Linked DNA regions of Homo sapiens: region 1 is linked to region 2. Evidence: promoter capture Hi-C in human tissues and cell types (Jung and others, 2019). All regions are on one chromosome and are shown on one strand. Each heading gives the region's core, a stretch centred on a gene start or on the middle of the fragment in contact. The rest is flanking DNA. Distances are from core to core; before and after follow the strand shown. Region 1 overlaps CARD8 (caspase recruitment domain family member 8). Region 2 holds the start of PLA2G4C (phospholipase A2 group IVC).

Region 1 (2,700 bases), core at 1-2,500, 130 kb before region 2:
TATATAACAATTATTTTATATATAATACAATTATATATAGCTAACATTCAGATAAGCTGGTTGAGGATTTATGTGAATCTTTGCTATTTTTCAATGTTTAAAATTATTTCAAAATAAAAGCATTATATGGGTCATGTAGTTTTTTTGTATAGTTTAGTTCTAGGTACCATAGTTGCTATTTTAATGAGTGTATTTTCTTCTTTCATGGAATTGGGATAGTCTGTTATATTAAGAAGCTATTCACTTTTGTATATTAAGATTCTTCTGGCTGGTGCGGTGGCTGACACCTGTAATCCCAGCACTTTGGGAGGCTGAGGTGGGCGGATCACCTGAGGTCAGAAGTTTGAGACCAGCCTATCCAACATGGTGAAACCCCATCTCTACTAAAAATACAAAAAAAATTAGCCAGGCATGGTGGTGCATGTCTGTAATCGCAGCTACTTGGGAGGCTAAGGCAGGAGAATCACTTGAACCCAGGATGCAGAGGTTGCAGTGAGCCGAGATTGTGCCACTTCTCTACAGCCTGAGCGACAGAGGGAGGCCCCGTCTCAAAGAAAAAAAAAGATTCTTTCTCTAACTTACTGGTTTATCTTACTTTTGTAGCTTATTTCAGGTGATTCGTTATGTTTCTCTATAGAGGAAAATAACGTGTAGTGAGTTATAGTTTAATCTCCTTCCTTTCAATCACTGTATTTGGAATTTGTCCAATATTTTGGAATAAGCTTCCGATATTTTAACTTAAATAGGGAAGGTCTTGGTATTTTCCTGACTTCAGCTGGAATGATTTCATAGTGTCCACATGAAGCACAAGGTTATCCTTTGGCCTGAGAGAGACATATTATGCCGAGAATGTGTGTAATCCTTTTTACTTAGGAATTGTGGGTGGAGTTTTTTTCCCCCCAAGAGTGATTGTTAACTTGGGTCCATCATTTTCCTTTGATTGTTCTTTATCTAAAACAAAACAAAACAAAAAACAACAACTTCCTGGTCTTCTCACCTATTTTCTTGTAGTGCCTTTAAGCAATGCTCTGGTAATATCTTTTTCTTAATTATTATGGAATGCATGGGACCGTTCCATGCCTGATTATATGCAGAATGTTCTTTCTACAAGTGTGTTTTTGTAGTATTTCTGTACTCTGTCACATTAGGGCATTTCTCTGTTTTCAAGGATCCACACCGCCTCTACCACATTTATCTCCTGCTCAGCCTCCACTCTACCTGCCCAGACCTCACAGCTCTTGTATTCAAACTCTATAGATAAATCACCGAGTATGAGGCTTTACTCACAGGAAATTACTCCTCTGGCACTTCCTGACTTCTTTATGTTTTCTCACTCTGCACTTCCTCCCTGTTCCTCCGCCATGCTTCACCCTGACTTAACACAGTTTTGTCAGCCGGTGAGAAACATTTGGATCTGTGAATTAAATCTGTCTCCTCATTATTCTGAAAATGGAGTTTTCATGGACTTTTCCGTTCACCTTATTGCTTTCATTGATACTCAGTAATAGACAAGATAAACTGTTATTTCTCATTGCCTTGTTCATTTCAGAAGTACCAGGTAGAATTTTACAATTCTTGCCTTGATACATATTCCCAGTAATTGTTGAGTGATTTAATTGTATGTTGTCTTGATATTACTTTGGTCATATATTACATTATTTCTCATTTTTGAATATCTGGATTTACATAAATTCTGTGTAATTCAGGTTTGTATTTATCCAAGTTCTCAGAAACTACAACTGCTGTAATTGATCATAACTCTCCTAATACAGGTGTAACTAAAGTGAGAGATGCTTTTTGACTCATGAAAAAAAGAAGACTGTAGACCAAGTCTCAATAACTTCTACTTAATCCTATAGAAAGTTAGCCAAGATAATGTACACCTTCTTTAAGATTCTTATAAGGAAAAAATTCCATTTCGTTTCTTGAAATGAGGTATTGCTTTGTCGCCCAGACTGGAATGCAGCGGCGCCATCATAGCTCACTGCGACCTTAATCTCCTGGGATCAAGGGATCCTGTCACTTCAGCCTCCTGAGTAGCTGGGACTACAGGCACAAACCACTGTGCCTGGCTTCATGAGAAAAAATTAAATATATAATGGTACTAGGTAAAATAATACTAAATAAGAAGTAATTTGAATGCATACTATATTAACTCTGGAATAACGATACTTAAGTAAAAGAAAAGTGTTCGTTATAACAAAGGAAAAGCTTGTAGTTCAGAGGATAGCTAAATTAAATTTTTCGCAGGCTGTGAGAAGCATAATAATTAAACATGAATAAATTAAATATGCAGATTTTAATATTTTTATTGAAAATTGGATAGAAATATTTGTTTAGTTGGAACCTGTGAGTGATTATTATGCATATAAATAGACATTCAGTTATTGCAGATAAATTCAGTGGTGGTAAAATAAAACATTTGTATAGGGTTTTGGAATTCAAATCTTTAGATTATTTCTCTGGGCCAGGGGCAATGGCTCACGTCTGTAATCCCAGCACTTTGAGAGGCTGAGGCGGGAGGATCACCAGGTCAGGAGATCGAGACCATCCTGGCTAACACGGTGAAACCCCGTCTCTACTAAAAATACAAAAAAATTAGCCAGGCGTCATGGCTCACGCATGTAGTCCCAGCTGCTCAGGAGGCTGAGGCAGGAAAATCGCTTGAACCTGGGAGGTGGAGCAGCCTGGTGACTAATT
Region 2 (2,700 bases), core at 11-2,510:
TGCGGGCACTGAAGAGGTGAGCCTGGCGTTAGGGGGAGCAGGGGAGACCATCTTCCCCCTGGTGAAATCCTGTTCTAAAATTGGTGATACTCCTGCCTTGGCCTCCCAAAGTGCTAGGATTATGGCCTCATATCTATTTTTAAAAAATAAGAATTCAAGCTGGGTGCGGTGGCTCGCAACTGTAATCCCAGCACTTTGGGAAGCCGAGGCAGGTGGATCACTTGAGTTCAGCAGTTCGAGCCAGCCTGGCCAACATGGTGAAACCCTGTCTCTACTAAAAATACAAAAATAATTAGCCGGGCGTGGTGGCAGATGCCTATGTTCCCAGCTACTCGGGAGGCTGAGGTAGGAGAATCGCTTGAACCCAGGAGACGGAGGTTGCAGTGAGCCGAGATTGCACCACTGCACACCAGCCTGGGCGACAAAGAGTAAGACTCCATCTCAAAAAAAAAAAAAAAAAATTCAAAACCCATCGAGTTGGGATGACGCTTAGTGCTGGGCTTCAGGAAGAGTAGGCAGGAGGGTAGTATGGGAGGTTTCTAGGAGCCACTCTTGGAAGCGGTGCTCCCCACAGATGCCCGATTGCACTGACTGGAACTCGGTCACATGACCACATAACTCGCTCACATGACCACACCTAGCTGCAAAGGTGCTGGGAAATGTGGTACCCTGTTGGGAGGCCACTTCTGGGCTTCAAACCTTCACTGTGAATGGAGCTCACAGGTTTTCTAAAAATGGACATTAAATGAACCAGAGTTGGCCCTAAGGATCTGGCTCACTGCAACCTCCACCTCCCAGGATGAAGCACCTGCCTCAGCCTCCCGAGTAGTAGCTGGGATTACAGGCACACGCCACCATACCGAGCTAATTTTTGTATTTTTAGTAGAGAAGGTGTTTCACCATGTTGGCCAGGCTGGTCTCGAACTCCTGACTTCACATGATCCGCCTGCCTCAGCCTCCCAAAGTGCTAGGATTACAGGCGTAAGCCACCACGCCTGGCCTCAATATTTCTTTTTCTGGGTATTTGAGTATGATATTATATATGATGGTTATTAGACAGCCAGATGCATAGGAGGATTAGCTAATCTGTTTTGAGGAATACTTATCTCCAATATAGTTATATAACGACAACATTCTTTTTTTGAATACTGGTCTCGGGTGCCTAATGACAGAAGGGTGACATCACTAAGGAAGCCTGGAAAGTCCCAGCCCTCCACGTGATCCCACGGATGAAAATAGCTCCGGGTGAGCTCTGGAACAGCTGAAAAAGCTGGAGCAACCAAGCAGGGCCTACAAGCCGAGGAGGGCTGTTTAAAGGCGCAGGGGCCATTTTACCTCCAGGTTGGCCCTGCTCAGGACCAGGAGGAAACACCTCCAGCCCGCGACCTCCTCCCACAGGGGGAAAAGGAAAGCAGGAGGACCACAGAAGCTTTGGCACCGAGGATCCCCGCAGTCTTCACCCGCGGAGATTCCGGCTGAAGGAGCTGTCCAGCGACTACACCGCTAAGCGCAGGGAGCCCAAGCCTCCGCACCGGATTCCGGAGCACAAGCTCCACCGCGCATGCGCACACGCCCCAGACCCAGGCTCAGGCAAGCCGTGGGGGCAGGGAGGGCTGTTTCATCCCGCTGGGGCGGCCATAACCAAGTACCAGGGATTGGGTGCAATTAAATAACAGGATTTCTTTTTCTTTTTTATTTTATTTTATTTTATTTATTTATTTATTTTTTTTTGAGACAGCATCTCGCTCTGTCGCCTAGGCTGGAGTGCAGTGACGCGATCTCGGCTCACGGCAAGCTCCGCCTCCGGGGTTCAAGCGATTCTCCTGCCTCAACCTCCCGAGTAGCTGGGATTACAGGCGCACACCACCACACCCGGCTAATTTTTGTATTTTTAGTAGAGATGGGGTTTCACCATGTTGGCCAGGCTGGTCTCAAACTCCTGAACTCGTGATCCACCCCACTCGGCCTTCCAAAGTGCTGGGATTACAGGCGTGAGCCACCGCGCCCGGCTAGGAATTTATTTTCTAACACTTCTGGAAGCTAGAAGTCCAAGATCAAGGTGTTGGCAGGGTTGGTTTCTCCTGAAGCCTCTTGCAGAGGCCCTAATCTCTCCTTATAAAACCAATCAGGCTGGGCGCGGTGGCTCACGCCTGTAATCCCAGCCCTTTGGGAAGACGAGGCGGGCGGATCCTGAGGTCAGGAGATCGAGATCATCCTGGCTAACACAGTGAAACCCCGTCTCAACTAAAAATACAAAAAATTAGCTGGGCGTGGTGGCGGGCGCCTGTAGTCCCAGCTACTCCGGAGGCTGAGGCAGGAGAATGGCGTGAGCCCGGAAGGCGGAGCTTGCAGTGAGCCGAGACTGCGCCACTGCACTCCAGCCTAGGGCACAAAGCGAGACTCCATCTCAAAAAAAAATAAAATAAAATAAACCAATCAAACCAAATTCCAGGCCACCCTCAGGACCCCACTTTAACTTAGTCACCCCTTTAAGAGCCTATGTCTGGCCGAGTGCGATGACTCATGCCTATAATCCCAGCGTTTTGGGAAGCCAAGGTGGAAAGCTCTCTTGAGCCTAGGAGTTCAAGACCAGCCTGGGTGACATAACAAGACCTGATCTCTACAAAACATAAAAAATTTAGCTGGAGATGGTAGCATGTACCTGCACTTCCAGCTACTCGGGAGGCTGAGGTGAGAGGC

Evidence for each region. Contacts are between HindIII fragments. The study calls those that stand out against the background at their distance.
Region 1: a fragment that was not itself captured here is called in contact with the fragment with the promoter of PLA2G4C in region 2 in 4 of the 25 tissues and cell types used here (dorsolateral prefrontal cortex, mesenchymal stem cells, mesendoderm cells and 1 more).

The regions. Positions count from the first base shown.
Region 1 is chr19:48,243,078-48,245,777 of GRCh38, reverse strand. All of the region lies in intron 3 of CARD8 (caspase recruitment domain family member 8), which reads left to right. Among named protein-coding and RNA genes, the nearest start is that of CARD8-AS1, 11 kb to the left of the region's middle. The HindIII fragment of the contact is 5,679 bases long and covers 1-2,700 here.
Region 2 is chr19:48,109,377-48,112,076 of GRCh38, reverse strand. PLA2G4C (phospholipase A2 group IVC) reads left to right here and starts at 1,260. Exons shown (of 17, transcript NM_003706.3): 1 at 1,260-1,590. RefSeq lists an enhancer at 1,285-1,444. The HindIII fragment of the contact is 42,556 bases long and covers 1-2,700 here.